4 separate regions of the Homo sapiens genome follow, and regions 1, 2 and 4 are each linked to region 3. Evidence: promoter capture Hi-C in 16 types of primary human blood cells and fetal thymus (Javierre and others, 2016). All regions are on one chromosome and are shown on one strand. The core of a region is centred on a gene start or on the middle of the fragment in contact, and the rest is flanking DNA. Distances in the headings are between cores, read along the strand shown. Region 1 overlaps PKP4 (plakophilin 4). Region 2 overlaps GALNT5 (polypeptide N-acetylgalactosaminyltransferase 5). Region 3 holds the start of ACVR1 (activin A receptor type 1). Region 4 has its middle 20 kb from the start of ERMN.

Evidence for each region. Contacts are between HindIII fragments. The CHiCAGO score rates a contact against its expected background, and 5 or more counts as called.
Region 1: a contact is called between a fragment that was not itself captured here and the fragment with the promoter of ACVR1 in region 3, in 2 of 17 cell types (fetal thymus and non-activated CD4 T cells). The highest score is 6.7, in fetal thymus.
Region 2: a contact is called between a fragment that was not itself captured here and the fragment with the promoter of ACVR1 in region 3, in 1 of 17 cell types (activated CD4 T cells). The highest score is 5.0, in activated CD4 T cells.
Region 4: a fragment that was not itself captured here is called in contact with the fragment with the promoter of ACVR1 in region 3 in 2 of 17 cell types (total CD8 T cells and total CD4 T cells); the score reaches 5.8 in total CD8 T cells.

The regions. Positions count from the first base shown.
Region 1 is chr2:158,460,113-158,463,484 of GRCh38, reverse strand. All of the region lies in intron 1 of PKP4 (plakophilin 4), which reads right to left. Among named protein-coding and RNA genes, the nearest start is that of PKP4, 4.8 kb to the right of the region's middle. The HindIII fragment of the contact is 1,411 bases long and covers 1,080-2,490 here.
Region 2 is chr2:157,268,362-157,271,552 of GRCh38, reverse strand. All of the region lies in intron 1 of GALNT5 (polypeptide N-acetylgalactosaminyltransferase 5), which reads right to left. Among named protein-coding and RNA genes, the nearest start is that of GALNT5, 12 kb to the right of the region's middle. The HindIII fragment of the contact is 1,406 bases long and covers 956-2,361 here.
Region 3 is chr2:157,874,700-157,877,996 of GRCh38, reverse strand. It overlaps ACVR1 (activin A receptor type 1), which reads left to right and starts at 1,667. Exons shown (of 11, transcript NM_001111067.4): 1 at 1,667-2,201. It overlaps LOC105373714 (a long non-coding RNA gene), which reads right to left and starts at 1,413. Exons shown (of 2, transcript XR_923518.3): 1 at 1,281-1,413. RefSeq lists silencers at 1,106-1,295, 1,316-1,555, 1,616-1,835, 1,846-1,895, 1,986-2,195 and an enhancer at 1,426-1,720. The HindIII fragment of the contact is 1,597 bases long and covers 752-2,348 here.
Region 4 is chr2:157,344,281-157,347,287 of GRCh38, reverse strand. No RefSeq gene overlaps it. Among named protein-coding and RNA genes, the nearest start is that of ERMN, 20 kb to the right of the region's middle. RefSeq lists an enhancer at 927-1,779. The HindIII fragment of the contact is 884 bases long and covers 1,015-1,898 here.

The DNA of each region.
Region 1 (3,372 bases), core at 536-3,035, 590 kb before region 3:
CTTCCTCTTTTCTAGCCTTTCTTGATTTGGGAGTCTCCTGCTGATTTCAAATATCCTTTTTTTTTTTTTTTTCAACTGTGATCACTTTCAGACAGAAAAGCCAGCTTAAAGAGTTAATTTACAAGCTGCATTTGGGCAAATGGTGTTAAATGATGAACACTTTCTAACGCTTTATTCATGTACTGACTAGCAAAGACATTTTATAAAATGACTACTACCTGGGATTACAAACGCAATAATTGTATACATTCTCCTATACTTGTTGGCTAGCGGTGGTTAATGCCTCTCTAAGTATTGCCTACCGCAAGAAGCTACAACTTCCCTACTTAAAAAGGCCCTTAATTACTGTGCTGGATTCTCTTTTCTACAATGTCCTGCAAACTATCAAGCTCACAATGGTTTCTGTTCAGCAGTTTATTTCTTCTCTGAAATATCCTGTTGAAATCCATAATCATTTTGACAAAACCCACACAGAAAGCAAGCCAATAATTTCCCTGGCATTTGGTAAATGCTGCAGAAACCATCATAAAAGCACCACAATGTAAAAATAATTATTTCAATGTATTAAGCGCTGGCTCTGAACCAGCTCCTGTTGTAAGCACTTTACATGTATTAATTCATTTAATCTCCCCAACAACCATATGAAGTGGGTACTTTTATCACTCCATCCTACAGATGAGCAAAACGAGGACCACAGAGATTATACAATCTGCCAGGTTACACAGCCAGCAAGTTGCAGTGCCAGAATTGGACCCTGACAGTAAGGCTGCTAATCATGACACCTCACTACCTTAATGACACTTCATGAGCCTCACTGAGTATGAAGGTGAAATCCCAAGCACTTTCCCTGGCCAAAACTACCATATGTAATCTCAGACTAGGGTAGAGGCAGACAGCAAGACTTTGAAAACATGTGCTTCATCCCTTCCCCTCACTTCCCAAAATGATATTGTTTTAAAACAAAACAATTAAAAATGAATGTGAAGAAGGTTCAAAAGTCTCAAAAGAGAAATTCAACTTCCTTGTTGCCATGATTTGAGGTACAAGGGGAAACAGGGCTGATTATGTATATTCAAGCTTGGAAAAGTTTTTTGTTCTTTTTTTTTTCTTAAGAAAAATTTTTAAAAACCACTGTGAACTTCAGGAATCTTGAGCTAAAATATAACTTAGATCAATATAATCCAAATTGTATTTTTAAAAGGAGGAAGCTATCATCCAAACATTAAATGGTTTGTCAAGGTAATAAGGTTTAATGGCAGATCTCCTAATTTCTGATTTGGGATGCTTTTTACTTCCCTCATGCTTGCAATTCAGACACAGCTTGCAATGGGCCAAAACTTCAGATACCACCTAGCCAGTGTTTCAAAAGTCTATTTGTAAACTGATTGTGGGTTTCTATGAAAAACTGCATTCCAAGTTTCGGGCCAGGCCCCAAAAGCCTGCATAGTACCCTGATAGCCTCACTTCAAATACATATTTTACCTAACCTTCATATACAGTATCATTTTTGTGTCAAACCCCATACCTGTTTTAAATTCAACCTGGAATACAGGACACCAATGTCTACATTTTATGTACATGGTCTCAGGCCATAAGGAGCTTCCTCTGCCTTGCCAAGCTCACAGATGTGGTGATGGCATAGTGTGTGTGTGTTGTGGCAGGGTGGTGGGGGCAGTGTAGGGGCACAGATGAAGGAAGAGCAGTACTAACACCATTAAATATTTGCAACTCACCCAATTTATATTTAGTGGAGAGGAAACTATAGAAGTCAAACATGCCTCAGATGTCAAAGAAAGGTGCTTCCCCTGGCCCCCTCCCTCCCTACCCTATATTGTGAGTTCTGGATTTTGTGAAGACTGTATTATTCTATATCTAGCTACCTGGATTGGCACCCACCCAGTCACCAGGCATTATTCCATTCAGGAAAAATGCTTTGCAATCACATGACTTACAATAACTCAGACACTTCCACATTTTAATTTATATATTTGGTAGTAATAAAATCTCACAATACAATCCCTAACAACATTTTATCAGCTGCAATGAATCATTATATATGAGTCATAATAAACTATAATGTTATCAAGACTATGAATAATAAAATGATCAGTGATATAGCCAACATTTATTGGTATATCAAACAAATCTGAATTATGAAAAGGAAAAACAACAGGTCAATGATGAAGAAAATGTCTGCAACATTCCTAAGTTTAATTGAAGATCACCATCATGTAACATCCCCAATTTAGTAATGGTAACATAGCACACTAAATTAAGATAATTCCACTGAATTATTAAAGTGACAAGGTAAGAAATATTTGAATGTTATGCAACTTCTGAACTGAAACCAGCAAGTACATGAATTACTGTTCTTGGCAACTTAGAGCCTGATTACCTTACCTTGAAATAACCCTGTTATTTCTTATCACTGAGCATCGAACTGACCTGCTGACTGCTATCATCACTTCCATTGATGTAAGAATGAAAGCTTACATCCACGTATCTTAAAAGTTTTCCTTCTTTTCTCTATTTGCAGCTGTCTGTAGTGTTGTCTGGCTGTGAAATAGTTATTTAATTCTCCAAACATACCTAGTCCTCTGGTGTTATGTTTCAGATTCTTCTTCCCCCTTCAGTGCAGGAAGGGCACTACAGAATCATTTCACACATTGAAGGAGTAACTATCTCCCTGTACACTTGAAGGCGTGAAGGCAAACTTCCCAAACTGACATACAATACCATAGGCATTTATGCCCTAAAATAACCCTATAGTAACCTCTATTTTACCTTCCATTTAAGAATGAAGATATGATGTCCATTTTAGAATTAAGCAAGGTAGGGAATTACTGCTCAATTGAAACAGAAAGAAAAACACATTAGATTACAGAGCATTCTCAAAATACCTTAATATTTCAAAAGAGTCAGGTAAGAGACTAGACTTACCTGATGGTTGGCATCATCCAGGGTATGAATATTATTTAAATTGATCCCTGGGTAACAGCATGGAAATTACTAAGGTCAAAAATTGCCAATAATTGCATTTTCAAAAATTAAAGCGAGTTTCAAATTTTTACATTAAATTTACTTTGCCTATTTACAAGAAAAGGAAGAAAACTGCGATTCTAATTTAAACCTAATCCAAATACTCAAGGTCATAGAAATGCTAAAATTTTTATTAAACTGAATTTGGTAGTAGTTTCTTTAAATTCATATCATGTCAGAACTAGTCACAAAATTAGATTTGATTTATTCAGCTTATAAATGCATTACTGCTGCAATAATGTATATAATTTTACTTTCTGGCTGAATACTAGCTGCCCCTAGTTTCTTCTTCCCTTGTTTTCCATCAATACTCTGCTCCCTTATCTCCCTCCA
Region 2 (3,191 bases), core at 409-2,908, 610 kb after region 3:
ATCTCAGCTATAACATCTTTATACCTCCACAGTTGCCTCCCCTAGCTCTTGAGCATCCACTCTCTTTCTCCAGGATTATTGCTGGAGTCTCCTAAAGGGACACTACTTCCACAGTTTGTCAGATCAACACCACTCTTCTGTTTAAAATCCTCAGTCAATTTCTATGGGACAAAGTGAAAAGGAAAAAAATCCAAATTCTTTAGTGTATAGGACCCCTGCTCAACTTTCCAACTGCCTGTCATTCCACTCTCCCCTCACACACTCCACCTTGGCCTTCTTTCAGTTCCCTGAAGAACACTCCAGCTTTTGTTATTTGCTTAACTTCTAGCATTTTTGCTACCCTTCCCATGTCTTCGCAGCTGGCTGCTTCTATTCCTTTAGTTCCTATCTTAAATATTCCCTTCATAGAGATGCCGTCTCTGACAACGCTTTCACATTTTTTTTTTTTTTGAGACAGAGTCTGGGCTGGAGTGGAGTGGCGTGATCACTGCTCACTGCAGGCTCCGCCTCCCGGGTTCACGCCATTCTCCTACTTCAGCCTCCTGAGTAGCTGGGACTACAGGCACCTGCCACCACGCCTGGCTAATTTTTGTGTATTTTTAGTAGAGACGGGGTTTCACCATATTAGCCAGGATGGTCTCGATCTCCTGACCTTGTGATCCACCCGCCTCAGCCTCCCAAAGTGCTGGGTTTACAGGCGTGAGCCACTGCACCTGGCCTACCCTCTCAAAATTAACTATTCTTTTATTATTCTCTATTATTGTGTTTCTGTCACAGCATTCATCTATCAATCTTATTTCCTTATCTTCTGCATCCAAAATTTTCTGAGGGTAGGACAAATCTGCCTTGCTTACTACAGTACCACAAGCTTCCAGCACAGTTACACAATAAATATTTGATAAATATGTATTGAATGCATGAATGAATGGATGGAGATGAGATGGAACTTAAAGCTTAAATAGTGGAAGAAATATTTCCCTTTGAGATAGAAAGTACAAAAAGGTGGTAACGTATACAAATATATTTATGCACATGGGATGAGAAGTTGAAAATATTCATAGCTCATACTGGAGGAAGGGTTATCTGTTAATGTAATAGGCTAGGGGCTTGAGGAGAATGGAGAATATTTTGGACAGATACTATGGGCAATGGGAGAGAATGCTGGCCAGCTAGCTAGGATTTCAGAGGGGCAGTGAGCACTTTCCTGAAACTGGAGATGCCAAAATTTTATGAAATTTCAATATATGATTTGCTCCACCAGTGCCTGCCAGCCTGCGTGTAAGAAGAGATAAAGCAAATTGCTGGATTAATATGAGTCTAAGGGATATCAGAGCACATGAGGTAGAAAGAGAATGGGTAGTGAGGTTTGAGGGGACTGGTGTAAGGTGGTTGAATGTTCCGGCATGGGCTCTGGGTCAGGGAAAGAGGAAGTAAAGCTAAGGGGAGTTTAATAGCCTGAGTGAAAGGGAGGGTACAGAAGAAAACAGCTACAGCCTATGACTTCCTCATCTCTAACTTTATAATATAAATTAATGAGAAATTCACATTTCACAGTTACATTTTTTTTAATGGTATTTGGTGCTGAAAAAAAAATCAAATCAGTTCTGAAAAGAAAGGATCAATTACACAAATTCGGCATAAACCAACAAGCCCGGCTGTGAAGTCCTGAGAGTTGCTTTATGGTTAAAATTTGGTTGGTCTGAGAAACATCCAGTGACAAAAGGAATTGTATCAGGAGGAGTTAACTAAGCAGGCTCATGCAAATGACTCTTCCTATATTTTAAATTAGTAGAGTTTTTGTCCTTTTTAGAAGGAAGTTCTAAAAAGTGCTAGACAGTCTAAAATTGGAGGTAAGAAAAATTCTCAGAAATTTGAGAGATTTGGGGAAGACACCTCTAATCACCAAATATCTAATCCTCTATTCCCCCGATTATGTCATGGTGCCTTAATTTCACTATTAGTACCCTACATGGGCAGATCATGAGAGATTCCACTAGATGCTAATATCCCAGCAAATAAGTAGTACCTCTGCCAATTGTTGACAAATATATATCTTAGATGTGTTTAAAGAATTACAATGAAGAAATTCTGTGGAAGATTATATGGTACAGATCATATTAGTGCCTGGTAAAAGCAATATTACAGGATGGGAAAGAGGGACCCAAAAGAGATGCCTGAGATTTCCAATACAAAGTTTCAGGGTGTGCCTTGATTTGGGGTGACTGACATGTCAAGGCACTCTGACATTTACAGAGACCTGTTCTCCTGCATTACTAAACAGATTAAACATGTTTCCGGGTATCTAGCAAAACTAGTGTGCTTGTTTTGTTCAAAGGAACAGTGGGAAACCCCCGCAAAGCTTTCAGCATTTTAAACTCTTACTCTAGTCTTTCATACTGGAAGAAAGGTTACTTGCTAATGTAATAGGGTAGGGGCTTGAGGAGAATGGAGAATATTCTGGGCAGACACTATGTCATCTAGTTGGCATAGGTTGTAAAAACCATTTCAAGTTATCCTACACCAACCTAATTCAAGCAAGTTTCCTTTATTTCAGTTTTTCCTTAATTTCTGCCTATATCATGGGAGGAGAAATTGCTGCTAAAGTCTAATTTGAATGCCAGATATTTCTAGGTTTGTAACTTTTTTGAGGCTAAGAAATCACATTTATATTCTATATGCCTATTTATTATACAAATTAGGTATTTAGAGTCTACTGGTCCCATGCTATACTTAAAAAATTAATCCAATCTCTTTGTCTTGGGGGGGAATCTAGGCTTAGATTACTGCAGCCAATCCAAGTTCTAAAAACAAATGGGGCCTCTAATGTGGGGAGTTTCACTATCCTGCACTTAGCTGACATACTACTGTGGTGGACAGAAAGACTCTGGACTTGAGAAAGATGACAAGAGACTAAGTTTTTAGTTCATTCTAGCATTTATTGGCCCTATGGCCATGGGCAAGTCAGTTAGGCCCCTAGAACCTTAGTTTCCTCACTTTTAGGATGAAGATTACAATGCCTTCATCACAGAACAGTGGTGAAGATTTGATGAGATAATGGATGTAAAAATATTTTGTGAGCTTCATGCTGAAAAACTCATGTGAGAACCTACGATTACCCATAATGCAAATACACACATTTTGAGGGAGCACACTGCCTTTTTCTGAAGCAGTCCTTTAATCTGAATCTATCA
Region 3 (3,297 bases), core at 418-2,917:
TAACAGGATTCATTAATTCATTTATTTACCTACTCAGCAAAACTTTATTGAACACCCACATGAACCCTTCTGCTAAACATTGTGATACATGATGAATACAATCAGACCTGGTCCCTGCCCTCTTGCAGCTTACAGCCTGGGAGGGAACTCTAAAGGTTACCAAGAAGGGCCAGTTTGTACAATGAGGACTCCATGAATGTACATCATTGAGCTTCACAAGCTTTCACGTTTGTAATCTCATTTGAACTGCACAACCACCTCACGAGACAACCTGTATTCCCTTCTTAGGTTAAAAATGTGCCCCAGTTCAAAACAGTTTGTAAGTGGCAGAGCTGACACTTCAGCCAAGTGACAATGAGGGCCCTGTTACATCATTCTATAGAGCAGGGATACATATAGGTGCTCTTGCCTTGATTGGTACTGAACTTGCCTCTCCTGCTCCTCACCAATCATACAGGTACAAAGCTCTCTTTATGAAAAAAATGCTCCCACCTACTCCATCCTTTTGCTTACAGCTGGGGATTCTAGTTTTTTCACGTATATATGCCTTGTATTTCTAATTAGATTGTAAACTCCCAACCTGCAGGGACCAGATCTTCCATTTCCTTTGCAACCTTTTGCAGTACTGCAGTCACCCAATAAATGCCCTCTGCATGAATGAACCTGTAGAGATAAAAATACTTTATGGCATTCCCATTTATAGGTTTCATGTTTTTATTCTGCTTTGTGATAGGACTGTACATTATAAGCTTCTAGAGGGCAGAGAAAATGGCTTAGTGCTTTCCTTTACACTCAGCAGGAACCATGCAAAATTTGATCCTTGCATGCCTTTTTGATGCTCTGGGTAATATTAGCACACTGGGGTGTTTTTGTGTATCTAAGGACCGAGGTTATCAGACTCTCTGCAGCGGAGAATGTTCCTGCATTTCCACTGTAAGCTCCCATGGCGCCTAGGACAGGGCTAGATCACTGCAGAAGCCCCTCCATGCTTATTTCTGTTACTAAGGAAGCCAAAGGCGAACATGGCAAGCTCTGTCATAACCCTAGACCTTGCAAGGAAATGAGCAAAGTGGAAGGGGATCTGAAGGCAGGTCAGAGATGGCCTGGATGAGAATGCTAAGGCTTCTCTCTGAGAATCCAGCCCAAGTCTGACATGCAGGGCTCGAGTAGGTGGCCGCCCGCAGTCGCCGGGCCCGGGATGCCCGCCCGTCCGCCCGCCTGCCCCGCGCGCCCTCGGGAGCTGTCCAGACGGCCCCGCCCGCGCCTACCTGGGCACTCACCCGTGCCGCGCGGCCTCTTCTCCTCCCACCCCGGCCACAGGAGCCCAGCTCGGGCCTGCCCCGCCGCCTCCGAGGAGCCCCGCTGGCGGCGCGCTCATAGCTTCCACCCGGGCCAAGCGACCGGCCAGACAGCGCCAGGCGCGCCGGGGGCGGCGCGGTCAGGCTCGGCGGGGCTCGGCGGGCTCGCCCTCGGCCGGGCGCCTGCAGGGGGCGCGGGGACGGCCCCGCCCCGCCGCCTCCTCTCTCCCCTCCCGGCTCCCTGGATCCGCGCCGGGAGGAAATGATGTGTTGCTGCCTGGTTAATCACAGCTCCAGACACTCATTGGCCGAGCGCTCCGCAGCCACTTCCTCCTCCTCCTCCTCCCGCTCCTCCCGCTCCGGCTCCTGCTCTTTGCAGCCGCCGCCGCCGCCGCAGCCTCCCCCTCGGCGCAGGGGGAACTTTTCTACTCTCTGTGACGGTCTCCCCCGCCGCCCCCGGGGGCAAGCCCAGCTGGTCCGCCCGCCCCGCCCGCGGTCGTGCTCCCAGCCCGAGCCTCTGCGCCTCGGGAAGTTTATTCTGCCCGCCCTCCTCCCCTTCCTCCTCCTCTTCACCCCGCCTCCCCGCCCTCCCCCGGCTCTTTCCCCCGGGTGGCTGCCGCTGCCGCCGCTGCCGCTGCCAGCCTGCTCCTCGGCCAGCCGCGCCGGCCCCAGGGCCGGGAAGCTCCCGGCCCCACGCACCGCTCCGCTGCAGCCACCGCAGCCGCCGCCGCTCTGGGCCGGCCCTCGGCCCCCGGCTCCCGGCCCCGCAGAGTTCCGGGCTCCCTCGCCGGCTGCACCGCCCCGCCCCGCCCCGCGCCGCCCCGCGCCGCGCCGACCTGCAGCGCCCGGCTGCCTCGCACTCCGCCTCCCCCGGCTCAGCCCCCGGCCGCGGCGGGACCCGAGGTGAGCGCAGGTCGCCGGCCGCGCCTGCTGGAGCCGGGAGGACTGAGGGAGGAGGTAGCCTAGCGGGAGAAGAGGCAGGGATCGGGGGTGGCAGGGTGGGCGTCTGCGGTGCCTCCCCCTCGCTTTCATTCCTTTCTCCCCCAAGCTTGATCCCCTCTCCGTGGGGGAAGCAGCCGCGGAACAAAACTGTCTTGCTTTGGGCCTGAACTGCTGGTGGGATATGGGGGGTGGGGGGGCAGAGGCGTGGAGCGGGGGTCTCAGGTTTGTATTGGGGTGTGTGTGAGTGCGTGTGTGTGTGTGTGTGTGTTGTGAACTCCTTCAGGGTGTGCGACTCTGACTTGTAAATCGATCTGGCCGCGGGGCCACGGGGCTTACCTTCCTAGCTGAGCTTGTAGAGAGTAAGGAGATAGATAGGCGAATTTCCCCCACCCTCAAAATATCCATCTCTTCCAAGAGGAATTTTCTGCTGGAGAGACAGCCAATAAACTCTGCTCAACTCCCTCCCTCCCTCGGTTCTTCCTAGCTGCAGTTTCAAAAAGCTTCAAAGCCAGGAATGTGGGATTCATCTTCCGATCCCCAGAAGGCAAATGTGGTTACAGATGTTGCACGGTACTTTGCCAAGTTTAAAACCCTTCCTTCAACACTGTAACCAAAACAGTGAGGCTAGAACCTCGGGCGCACTAAGAAGAGATGTGGGCCTCTGGGGCCGCTGGATTCAGTAACTTCCGTCGGGTTCTAGACTGGCTCGGCTCTGTCCAGTTTGTGCCAGATAGTCTCCCACCCCCTCCCCACCCCTCCTTTCCCCTGGAGATTTGAACGCTGCTTGCATGGGAGAAAAGCTACTTAGAGAAGAAAACGTTCCACTTAGTAACAGAAGAAAAGTCTTGGTTAAAAAGTTGTCATGAATTTGGCTTTTGGAGAGAGGCAGCAAGGTAATACAATGGACTTGTCAATTTTATTGGGCTTTTCTTTCTTTTTTGAGGGATGTATGATAAGAGTTAGATGATGGGCAAAGGGGCCCGTTCCATACATGTTTTTACATATTTTTGAGAAGAGGCCCATGAATTGAGACATAACCCAGTGGTTTTAAAGAATC
Region 4 (3,007 bases), core at 207-2,706, 530 kb after region 3:
TTTTTAGTAGAAATGAGGTTTTGTCATGTTAGCCAGGCTGATCTGAACTCCTGACCTCAGGTTATCCGCCTGCCTTGGCCTCCTAAAGTGCCAAGATTACAGGTGTGAGCCACCATACCCGGCTCTCCTTCACTTTGGAAGGACAATTTGACTGGATATAGAATTCAAGCTTGTTGGGTTTTTTTGCTTTCAAGACTTTAAATATTTTATGCTACTGTCCTTTTGTTTATATAGTTTCTGATGAGAAGTCTATTATAATTGTTATTTTCATTCATCTAAGGCAAAGTTTTCTCCCCCTCTAGCTTCTTTCATAATATTTTCTTCGTGTCTGGTTTTCTGCAGTTAGTTTTGTTTTTGGTATTTATTTGGCTTGATATTCTCTGATATTCCTGAATTTGTGATGTGGTGACTGTCATTAATTTTGGAAAGTTTTTAACCATTACTACTTCAGCTATTTCTTTTTCTCTGTTCTCTTTAATTTTTTCCTTCTGATATTCCAATTACATGTATGTTATAGCTTTTAAAATTGTTTACAGTTCTTAGCGGATATGTGATTTTTAAAAAATTCTTTTTTTCTCTTTGCATTTCAGTTTGCTATTGATGATCTTCAATCTCACTGATAGTTTTTTTCTCAGCTGTCTTTGTTTTTTATTTTGATCATCTGTTTTGATTCTTAGAGTTTCCATCTCGCTGCTTACTTTACTCATCTCTTCTTTCATGTTGTCTACTTTTTCTATTAAAGCCCTTAACGTATTAATTATAGTTATGATATTGTAAATTCCATGTCTGATCATATCATCATCTGTGTCATAGCTGAGCCTGATTCTCGTGATTGCTTTGTTTCCTTAGACTGTGTGTGTTTGTTTTTTCTTGGCCTGCTTTGTAATTTTTTGTTCAAACCAGAGAGGAAAATAGACAAATAGGCAAGTAGGCCTTTATTGTGAGGATTTATGTTAATCTGGCTAAGTGCTGGGCTATGTTTACTGTTTGCTATTGGTGTGGATGTCAGAAGCTTCAGATTCTTCCTTAATTTTGTCTCTCACCTTGACTTTAGGCTTCCCTAAGTACTTCTCAGAATCTCTGTTTTGCAGATTTTTCAACTGTAATCCACTGTCATACGGGAGCCCTATTGCTGAGGTGAGAAGGTTCTGGGAGGTAGAAGCATTCCATAATCTTGTTAAAACTCCATCTTTTGTGGGGGTTGGGGGCATGTTTCTGAACTGTCAGCTTCACAAGTGTTTCTCCAGTGGCATAGCTTTTAAATTTTTCCCTTAGTGGGGACTAGAAAGCTAGAGAAGACAGGGGAGAGAGAGGAATGCCTTTCCTCCCTTCCTTCTGGAATAAGGCTCTGGGAAAGTCTTTCACCCTGCAAAGTAGGCCTTTGTTATGGAGAACTCTCCAAGGGGATTTCATCCTCTTTTCCTGCCAAATCCAGGGAAGGATCTTTCTCACATCCTTACTATGAGAATTTGGCCATGTTCTTGGAGGTAAAGCTCACAAATGTGTGAGGGTACCCTTAGAACGGTGGCCCCCCTGAGCTTTTTTTCTCACATGAGTCCACACACAGCCTCCAGCAATTTGCCAACATTACCATGTAAATGCTCCTAACAATTTATGGCTCCAGCACCTTCTTTTCCAGGTAAGTAGATCCCAGCAGCTTCTTTTCCACGTAAGCAGATCCCACCTGTGTCTCTAGATACACCTGTCTCTCCAAATTTGGGGTAGTGTTTTGCCCTGAAACTTCAGTTATTTGATGGGTCCAAGAAAAGTCATTGTTTTTGTTTATCTAGCTTGTTGTTGTTATTGTAGGAATGGAAGTGGTGACTTCTCATCTGATTACTGTTATGTGCGTCCATGTGAAGAGACCACCACACAGGCTTTGTGTGAGCAATAAAGCTTTTTAATCACCTGGGTGCAGGCAGTCTGAATCCAAAAAAGGAGTCAGCAAAGGGAGATAGGAGTGGGGCAGTTTTATGGGATGTGGGTAGGTAGTGGAAAATTAGACTTAAAGGGGGTTGTTCTCTTGTGGGCAGGGGCAGGGGTCACAAGGTGCTCAGTGGGGAGCTCCTGAGATTCACTGTCCAGGAGAAGGAATGTGACAAGGTCAATTGATCAGTTAGGGTGGGGCAGGAACAAATCACAATGGTGGAATGTCATCAGTTAAGGCAGGAACTGGCTATTTTCACTTCTTTTGTGGTTCTTCAGTTGCTTCAGGCCATCTGGATATATATGTGCAGGTCACAGGGGATATGATGGCTTAGCTAGGGCTCAGAGGCCTGAAATTCCTGTCTTCTTATGTTAATAAGAAAAACAAAACAAAGTAGTGGTGAAGTGTTGGGGTGGTGAAAATTTTGGGGGATGGTATGGAGAGATAATGGGTGATGTTTCTCAGGGCTGCTTCAGGTGGGATTAGGGGCAGCATGGGAACCTAGAGTGGGAGAGATTAAACTGGAGAAAGATTTTGGGGTAAAGGTTGGTGTTGTGGGGTTGTTAGAAGGAGCATTTGTCATATAGAATGATTGGTGATGGCCTGAATGCAGTTTTGTATGAACTGAGAAACTAAACGGAAGACACAAGGTCCAAATAAGAGAAGGAGAAAAAGAGGTATTAAAGGACTAAGAATTGGGAGGACCCAAGACATCCAATTAGAGAGTGCCCAAGGGAGTTTAGCATAATTATTTTGTTGGTTAGCGAGTTTTGGGGCTCTATCCTTGAGTTTTTTTATGTTGTCATATACCAGGCCAGATTGTTTTAGGTAAAAACAACACTCCTCATTTAAAAACATACAGAGACCTCCTTTTTCAGCAGTGAGTAAATTGAGGCCTCAGAAGTTCTGGAGGACAACTGCAGCTAAAGAGTCAACCTGGGCTTGGAGGACAGATAAAGTTTGTGATATATCTGTAATGCTAGCAGAGAAGTCATTATAGAGGCTGCAGAATGTTGTGACAGAAGTTGATATGCCTGCTATTCCAGTTCCAAGTGCAATAGTGGAGGCAGAAAAGTTCTA